2 separate regions of the Homo sapiens genome follow, and region 2 is linked to region 1. Evidence: promoter capture Hi-C in 16 types of primary human blood cells and fetal thymus (Javierre and others, 2016). All regions are on one chromosome and are shown on one strand. Each heading gives the region's core, a stretch centred on a gene start or on the middle of the fragment in contact. The rest is flanking DNA. Distances are from core to core; before and after follow the strand shown. Region 1 holds the start of JAM3 (junctional adhesion molecule 3). Region 2 overlaps NCAPD3 (non-SMC condensin II complex subunit D3).

The links. The method cuts DNA at HindIII sites, captures the fragments that hold promoters and counts their contacts. A CHiCAGO score of 5 or more calls a contact.
Region 2: a fragment that was not itself captured here is called in contact with the fragment with the promoter of JAM3 in region 1 in 5 of 17 cell types (activated CD4 T cells, naive CD4 T cells, non-activated CD4 T cells and 2 more); the score reaches 7.5 in activated CD4 T cells.

The regions. Positions count from the first base shown.
Region 1 is chr11:134,066,331-134,070,986 of GRCh38, reverse strand. It overlaps JAM3 (junctional adhesion molecule 3), which reads right to left and starts at 1,915. Exons shown (of 9, transcript NM_032801.5): 1 at 1,828-1,915. The coding sequence starts at 1,903. RefSeq lists a silencer at 1,921-2,110. The HindIII fragment of the contact is 4,850 bases long and covers 1-2,656 here.
Region 2 is chr11:134,177,557-134,182,212 of GRCh38, reverse strand. It overlaps NCAPD3 (non-SMC condensin II complex subunit D3), which reads left to right. Exons shown (of 35, transcript NM_015261.3): 20 at 1,029-1,136; 21 at 3,277-3,391; 22 at 3,472-3,579. Among named protein-coding and RNA genes, the nearest start is that of SNORD153, 29 kb to the right of the region's middle. The HindIII fragment of the contact is 429 bases long and covers 1,956-2,384 here.

The DNA of each region.
Region 1 (4,656 bases), core at 666-3,165:
AAGATAGCTACACGCCTTCAAAGTGGATTCATACATCCTACTACCTCGATTATTTGTCATTAGAACTAGTTTGCAAAATTTGATTCTTCCTCCTACGCTCTGCATGTGAATCCCAGCCCCTACCAGCAAAAAAGCCACAAAACTAGTCCCTTAGGGGAAGGAAATCAGAGGTTAAGGGTAAGTGAAGCTCTTTGCATTTTCTAGTTTTATTAACAAACTACCAAGTTGAAATTCATTCCTGAGCTAAACTGCCAAATGCTTCTGCAACAAAAACTGCAAACTTTCACGTGAACAGATCTTTTCAACAATAGAGAGTTGTTCCAGGCTGTGAATAGGACAGTGTCAGTGTGACCAACACAGCGGGTGCTGGACATTCCTGACACCCTTGTCCCCTGGCTAGCCTTTGATCACTTATCTCCCAACAGCATTTGGTTTTGGGAATCACTTTCAGGCAAAGTATACAGACTTTGCCTTAGCGTACATAATCTATACGCTAAAACTCATCTTTTGTCACAGCCCATCACGAGCATCCCATTAGCATAAAGCACCAAACACAGGAATGCTTTGTTTTCCAAAATCTGTCCACCTTCACTCCTAAACAGTCCCTCCGTGTTTTAATTTGTATATTCTGGAAAACATCATGGGATGACAGTGGCAATTCAAACAATAAAATAATCTAAGAACCGAAAAAGGTCCTGGTCTGGTTACCTGCGGATGGCTGCCAGGGGAAGAGTGTGGTGTCCTGCTTTAGGTAAATATGAAGTTGAGGCTTCACTACTTAGAATGCAGCCTTGGAAAGCAGACTAGACTTGACTCTGAAAATGGATTAATGAAACCTATCTCACAGAGCTGCTGAAAGGAGTAAACGAGATAATGGCTCCAAAGTGCCTAGTAGACAGTACAAGCTCACTAAAGGAAAGCTATTTTAGTCCTCTGTACAACTGTCCAGGAAAATGTGGATCTAATGAGAATTCCAAACAGAGGGAAAGAAAATGCACAAAACTATCAAGTTTATTAGTGTGTCTTGATCAAATGCCCCGAATGCTATTTCCGGATAAGAGTCTGCGTGGTCTCCTCGGCCAGGCCAGAGACAAAAAAGGTACTGGATTGATATCCATTTTATTTCTGTAAAAGAAAAGCAGTTCCTTTGTGTCGAGTCAAATGAACTGCAGATCCCCAGAGGGCTGTGACCAAGCAGCCCGCCAGGCCTCGGAGCTCTGCCTCGCCGGTCCTCAGCTACGTCCCCCGCTCACCGTCCCTTCTGGAGAGCACAGCACTGCTGCGCAGGGTCTTCCAGCAAGTTCCAGCGCCCACGCCGCAGCTGCCGCGCTCCCTCCAGAGGGCCGTGCCCACCGCCCGGGAGGGGTCCACCCCGGGGACGAGCCCACCGCCCAGCACAGGACCCCGCCTGGGAGGAGCCCACCCGGGGGATGAGCCCACCGCCCAGCACAGGACCCCGCCTGGGAGGAGCCCACCCGGGGGATGAGCCCACCGCCCAGCACAGGACCCCGCCCGAGAAGAGCCCGCCCCCGGGGTCCGACGGCTGTCCGGGACCGACTCACTGCCTGGGACGGGCCCCCCATCCCAAATTAGCTCCCCGCCCCGGTCCAACTGCCGGGCGTCCCAGGGCCCCCGCCCTAGCCAGGCCCGAGTCCCAGCCCTGGCTGCGGGGACGCGGGCGCGCGCCGCCCCTCCGGCCCGGGACCCCGGGAGCCCTCGGAGCCAGGACCGCTATCCTCGCCCGGACCGGCTCCAGCAGCTTCGGCCCGCTCTGCTTCCGTCGCCCCCAGACCCTAGTCTCCCAACAGCGGAAACGCGCAAACTCACCCCTGAAAAGCAGCAGCAGGAAGAAGTCAGGCAGCCGAGCGCAGAGCCGGAGTCGCGGTGGCCGCCTCAGCGCCATGTCGAGGGTTGCTGAGGGGCCAGCGGCAGCGCGGCGCGGCTTGTAGTCCCCGCGCGCATGCGCCCAGCCTGCCAGGACCCTGCGACCCGCCCCAGTTACCATGGCGACCGCCGGGCCCAGCCGAGCCGGCACCATGGTGACAGAGGAAGCTGAGGTCTAGCTGCTTACGGATGCAGCGATGCTCTGGACCGGCACATGGGTTCTCTTTCAATGAACTTGGCGGGAGGAGAGTAAAGAAGTATGTACAAGAGTGAAGCAGGGTATATTTCCATAGCTATAGAATAAATCCATCACAACAGGTCGGAGAAGGAACACTCCTTTAAAATTTGGGAAATAAAGTATTTCTTATTTTACAAATAAGGATGCAGCCCAGTTATCTTGGAAGCATTATCGCCTTCACATCTTTTGGGCCCCCAATTCCAAATTGATGGAAGGAAAAGAGCTGAAATCTGCTTAAAACATAAGCAATACATACATTATACAGCATATAAAAGTGATGTCTTGCTAAAATAATTTGTTTATGTGGTAGATCAAAAGCATGATGGCATACCCAATAGTTTATTCTGCAGAAAAGCAGACTAATTATTTGCTCTGATTTCTGAATACTGGGAGATAGTAAAACCAGGGAAGAACAGGTAAGATGAGGACAAACAGGAAAAATGAAGAGAAGGATAAATTAAAGCAGAAATTAGATCTAAAAAAGCAAGAGTATTTAAAGTCTCACTTAATACTATGGAAAATACTTGAAAAGCTTGTATTTTAGCAAGTATAGAAAGTACACCTCCAATGTTCCCAGAAACAGCAGTCTAGCAACAGAATTCTGAATATAATTGTTAGTAAAATAAGCCAGTTTCCAACTAATATTTTTAATGTTTAACTTTTTCATATACTCATGCTACTTTTTTAGTATTTTTAGTTTTCATGCAAAATAGAAGTATATTTACATATTATGTATACCAAATTTATATATGTAAAAGCCGGGAAACGTGAAATAGATTGAGATTGTTGCCAAGAATATGCTTCAGTTTCCATCACTGTATAATCTTCTTTGTAAATCTTTATAACTGCTCAGATCTTTATGTTAATTGATTACCTTCTCAAAAATCTTATAAAGACAGAATAAAAATTAAAAAATAACTCAATTACCTACTATGATTCTGTCTTTCCTTTCATAAATCTTCTTTATGTTCCAGGTCACCATGCACTAAATCACAAGTAAAAGTGTGTAAAAGTTGTTTTATAATGGTGGCCTCTTTCCCTTTATCAAGCACAAAATCGAGAAATTAAAAAGAAGAAAATTCGTCTTATGCCCACTGACATTTTTTTCTGCCCTCTGTTTTCCCTATTATTCCCTTTAGCTCCTGGTCACATGGCCAGGCATATTTACCTAACTGAAGGAACTGTTTGGGTTACTTGGAAATGTGAGATGGTGTCTGACTGTGGACAGAGCACGGTTTTCAAAAACCAGTGCCTCTTTTCTCCTGCGGAATTTTCAGTGTTTGCGTTGTAAAATGGTCTATCTGTTAAATGGTCTTCCTGCTAGGGAATCTTTTGAAACTCAGACCGAGATTACAAAAAAGGGCTGCATGAATATTCTATAAGGGGCAGAGGTTCCTAGGAGAGTGGATGGCAGGTGCTTCATTGTAAGACATTGATTTTCCTCTGCAGATGGAGTCGGCATGTCATTACCAACAGCTGAGACAGTTCCTGGAATGGAAGTCTAACTAGGGATGCAGCAGAGTGGGGTAGGACACACGTGGCTGTGAAGTGGTCTGCTCTTCCTTAGGGTTTCATTGTTCCCTGGAGAGCTCTGACCCTGTGCAGAAGGGAATCAGAGCTCAATAAGGCCAGCAGCAAAGTCCTGGAAGCATTCCGTGAGCAGGGCTGAGGAGGCTCTGCCTCCATCACAGCATTACTCATCTGAATATGCTTATTTCTAAGGTGTGGCTTACTAGGGAGACATGCACTTCTTAAAAGAGCTCGGGGAACTGAATGTAAACCAACAATAAAATGCTAAGCCCTGGCCAGGCGTGGTGGCTCACGCCTATAATCTCAGCACTTTGGCAGACCAAGGAGGGAAGACCATGAGGTCAGGAGTTTGAGACCAGCCTGACCAACATGGTGAAACCCTGTCTCTACTAAAAATACAAAAATTTGCCAGGCATGGTGGCAGGCGCCTGTAATCCCAGCTACTCGGGAGGCTGAGGCAGGAGAATCACTTGAACCCGGGAGGTGGAAGTTGCAGTGAGCCAAGATTGCGCCACTGCACTTCAGCCTGGGTGACAGAGTGAGACTCTGTCTCAAAAAAAAAAAAAAGCTAAGCCCCTCAACAATCTGAAATGACCCCTCCTCTCAGCCAAAGGCACTGCAAAGTTAACCTGAAAAACTAGTTTAAGCCATGATCGGGGAGTTGGATATGCCTTATTATACCCTCCACCCTTTTGGAATTCAGGCCAACTGACCAGCATCAACATTAAAACAGATCTTAAGACTGATAGGGCCAGGTGCGGTGGTTCAGGCCTGTAATCCAGGCCCTTTAGGAGGCCAAGGTGGGCGAATCACCTGAGTTCAGGAGTTTGAGACCAGCCTGGCCAACATGGTGAAACCCTGTCTCTACTAAAAATACAAAAAATTAACCAGGCATCATGATGCATGCCTGTAGTTCCAACTACTTGGGAGACTGAGGCAGGAGAATCGCTGGAACCCAGAAGGCGGAGGTTGCAGTGAGCTGAGATCGTGCCACTGCACTCCAC
Region 2 (4,656 bases), core at 921-3,420, 110 kb before region 1:
CAGGATTGGGTGGCCTTGTCAGCTTTCCCAGATTCTGTGATACCGAAACTTACTAGTCCTAGTACCCAGGTTCTGGCCTCATTGGGATCAAGCATAAGAATTGCAGAAACTCTTTGGGCCAATGTTGTGGTCCAGGTTGTGCAATCTATTAAAATTTTAAATGTAATAGTTCTTTTAGAAGTAATAAAGCCAATAGTTTCCAGATACGTTAGGGCAAGTCAGACTAAAAGCATTGCTCATAGTGGTGGCTTGCCAGGCACTGGATGATGGTTAACACAGGTCCCTTCCTAAGGCACTACAGAGGAGTGGGGGAGGTGCGTGCACATCAGCAGATAATTTCAACATAATGTCATCATTCCTAAAATAAAAGTCGGCATCGGGTAACATGGAAGCAAGGGGGTGGAGGCCCTTAGCTCAACCTAGGTGTTTTGGAATGGTTTCCTACAGAAAATGAGGTCCAAGAATTCTAGAATGTGGTTGGGAGCTCTCTCTCTTCCTTGGCATAGAGGAACAGTCCAATGTGCACTAGAAGTCACCCCTTGAAGTTATTGTAATCAGTGAGAGACACGGAACACTTGTCCCTAATGCATAAATTTCAGAAGAGTAGCAACTCTATTTTATGTCTTTAAAAAATGTTTATCACAGTAGTTAATTCATCATCTGTATATGGCAGCAAAACTACAGCTTATTTCTGTATTTTTGGAGGAGCACTACTATTATAGATCTCTTACAAATTACTACATGGGGTCATTGTAAATATTTGGCCTTTTGCTCTTATAGGGCAAATGTAAAAAGAAAGATGATATATACACCGTTCTTTATAAATTCCACTTAGCCAGTACTCATGGCTAGATTGCTTAAATGCATGTCATTGTGGTTTTGGACAAATTGTGGGAAAGAGGAAAGCTAGGAAGCACCCCTACAGCCTATCCATTTGAAGATCATAGTTTCTTCTGAGAACATGGTGTTTCATGGGTAGTCTGGGAGATGTGCGGGGCCCTTCAGAGATGACTTTTGACTTGCCGTAGGAATTGCTGACGCAGGTGTGTGGGGATGTACTCTCCACCTGCGAGCACCGCCTCTCCAACATCGTTCTCAAGGAGAATGGAACAGGGAATATGGACGAAGACCTGTTGGTAAGCGACTGCTTTTCCTAACCATTCTTTTCGCTTCCATTTTATCCGTGAGGTTCTATTAAAGATGACTTTGTCATGTACGCTTTAAATGCTTTTAACAAAAGAGCTGTCTTAGCCTAGAGCTTACTTTCTCTTTTTAGAAGATATTTTTAAATTGATAACCTATTCATTTTTTTCTTATATACTTTTTATCGGTGGGGAAACTCAATGGTATACGCTTCATCTAGTTCAGTCTTATGAGAAGCCTGATTTCAGTAGGGAAAACACAGTATGTGTTGTAAGGTTGGTATAGTCAAGCTTAGAAATGTAAGGTAAGAAATAATAATGTGAGTATAGTGTTTTTGGTTTGTGTGTTTGCTTTTTTAAAAATTTAACATGTCTTCTGAGCTATTTGAACATCAGACAGTAGAACTGGGGAACAGTGCTGAGCAATTGCCAAGTAATGACTGAAATAAAATGAGAGATTTGACAATTCAGAACACAGATGACCTTGGAGCCCCAAGATTGTTTTCTGTGGCACCCCTGCTTTAGAAACTGTAAACGGTGCAAGAAATTCCCGTGAGCCAGGACGGGACAGTGGGCTGATTTCAGTGGCTGACTGGGGATAAGATGTATGGCAGTAATTCTGGTTCCAACATCTGACTTTGTCCAGTAAAGGAAATAATGAGCTGCTTTTTGATGCCATTCAGCACAGATCATTATTTAACCAAAACGGGCCATTTTTCTCATATGTTTAAATTAGTGGAGCACGTCTTTTCTGTGTTCAGTTTCTGCTTGTTGGCCTAGCTCTCCTAACGCCCAGTGATCACCGACCAAGCTTAGATTTGTTCAAAGAGAAGACCATTGAGCCTGAGGCACTACTGTGCACGTGATCAGGAATACAGAGCCTCACTATGGGAACCTGGGTGCTTTAGGTAAGAGCACCAGGGAGTGTAGCACAGGCTTGGCCCAGGGCTTCTAGAGGGTCTTGCTCTTCTCATTTCTGCCCACATTAAGAAAGATGCTTACTATGGTCAGTGAGTCTTGTCCCCACCCCTCCTCCCCCAGGTTTTTTTCAACTGTTAACCGTGTCATCAAAATCTACTCTTCAGTCAAAATATATATGGAGAGGTTTTGCCCTATATACATAGTTTCATTCTTGCTTCTTTAAATAGAACTTAAATATTTTTTTAATGAAGAGATACAGTATTTCAAGATTCTTTTAAACTCATATACTTTGTTATTGGCTTTCTTACCCTAGAATAAGCTTTTATTTGACATTTTACTATTCAGCATCATCCCTTCATTTGGGGTGTAAATAAAAAAAGAACAATATTACTTAGTTGTTAAACTGAATGTTATGAAGAAACACAGCATGGCAGCTGTGAGTAGGTTTTTGATGGGGTCTACATAGAAAAATAATCTGGAGGGCAACTTGAAAATGTGTTTCAAAATGTGAAATAGCTTTATATACTCTTTACCTTGGATTTTACTTCTGAGGAAAGAGAGCAGTATCTAAGGATACACAGGTGTTCACCAGAGCTAATCGAAACATTAGCAAAGGGAAACAGCATCAGTGTTCATTGATACTGGAATAGTGCAGTAAGTTATGACGACAGTCCTAGTTTTGAAATGGCATATACTTATGTAGTCATTAAACATATGTGTCATACATATTGACATGAAACGATGCCTAATATTCAAAGTAATCATTGCAGACTTCAAAATACTATACTTGGTAAGTGTATAAGAAAAGTAAACATAAAGCCACGTGACTATAGAAATACTTTGAAAAAGTTATACACAAAAACAATAATGGTGTCTCTGGGTGGTAGGGTTATAGGTAGATGTATCCCAGTTTACCCAAGATAACCCTAGCGTACACCTATTTTCACAAAATAATTATTAATAGCACCCCCTTTTACTTGCAGATGTGTCTAGATTTAGATGATAAAATTATATGCTTGCCCTAATTTTGGATGAGTTTCATTACATAGTGACTAAGTTTTTACAATAGCCATGTATTTTTATGAAACGAAAACTAGTAACATTGTTTTAAATTTGGGGGATAAAGGAAATACTCCATTGACATGTCCTTAATCTAGCTAGAGTTCACTTTTCTTTTGCCTTATTTTTACTGTAAAACCAATTATCTTTGTAGGTGAAGTACATTTTTACCTTAGGGGATATAGCCCAGCTGTGTCCAGCCAGGGTGGAGAAGCGCATCTTCCTTCTGATTCAGTCCGTCCTGGCTTCGTCTGCTGATGCTGACCACTGTAAGGCATTTGAAATCATACTCTGTAGCACGCATGCCGTTTCAAGGTTCTGTCGGTAACTTTCTCTCCCTTCTTTGCAGCACCATCATCTCAAGGCAGCAGTGAGGCCCCAGCGTCTCAGCCACCCCCCCAGGTCAGAGGTTCTGTCATGCCCTCTGTGATTAGAGCACATGCCATCATTACCTTAGGTAAGAAAAACATGGGAGAATGGGGCTTGACATCGTTCTGTGTGTAGCTGTTGTCTTAAGTAAGCCCAGCCATGGGACTGTGTCAGGGGCTGCGGAGCCTGTCTGTGTCTGCTCTCAGCCATGTGGTTCCTAGAGGTGGCTCTGATCTGAGTGCTGAGCTCTGCATAACTGCGTGCTGGTCATGAGAGCCCTCAGGCTGATAAGTCCTCAAGACTAAGGTACTCTCTAGAGGGTCTAGAGGGAGCTTTTGTTTTTCAGTAGGGTTATGTTAATTTATTACAATTATACCTGTTTCTGTAATTTTTTTTCAATACCTTCACTTGACTTGAATATTCCTGTAATATTTTAATATTCATAATGCAGCCCCACGAAGTCTGTTCTGTGCCGGGCACTGCACTGAGTTCTGGAAATGAAGAAATAAATTTTCCATAAAAGGAAATGGTTTATTTAGTACTTTCCAGAATTGGCTAGATGACTATTTACATATTTCTCCATGAACTCAAATTATTTTTAATCTTGAAAACACTGACCTCTGTGCTGGAAATTGTATTTTGTTTTTTTGTTTTTTTATTTTTCCTTTAGTGTGAGTGTATATTTCATGCTACCTAAGTTATTAATTTTTTTGTAATATTAGTTATTTTTCAAATACCTAAGAATTGCAAAACATTTCCCAGGCACAAAAGAAACATACAAACAAAACTCAGCAGCCTTTTCAACTATGAACAAGAAAGAAAGAAAGAAAGAAAGAAAGGGGACATGCATTCTTTCCTATTTACCCAGCTCAGATTTCAAATTCAGCATGGGTATTTAGCATCTGTAGAGGATATGTATAATCAGGAGTAAAATGTTTCACCTCTCAGGCTTTGCTGATCATTTTCCAGGTAAGGGGATAACTGCGAAATTCAAATGTTGACTTTAAAAGGAAGATGATTTTATTAGTGTAAAGGAACATCCCATAGTATATAACTCCTGGGGAGTTTATTTCTCCTTAGGTATTTTTATTCGACTATTCAAGATGGGTCTGTCTGCCTTTAGTTTTTTGTTGTTTGTGATTGTGGGCATGATGTTTTAACTTTG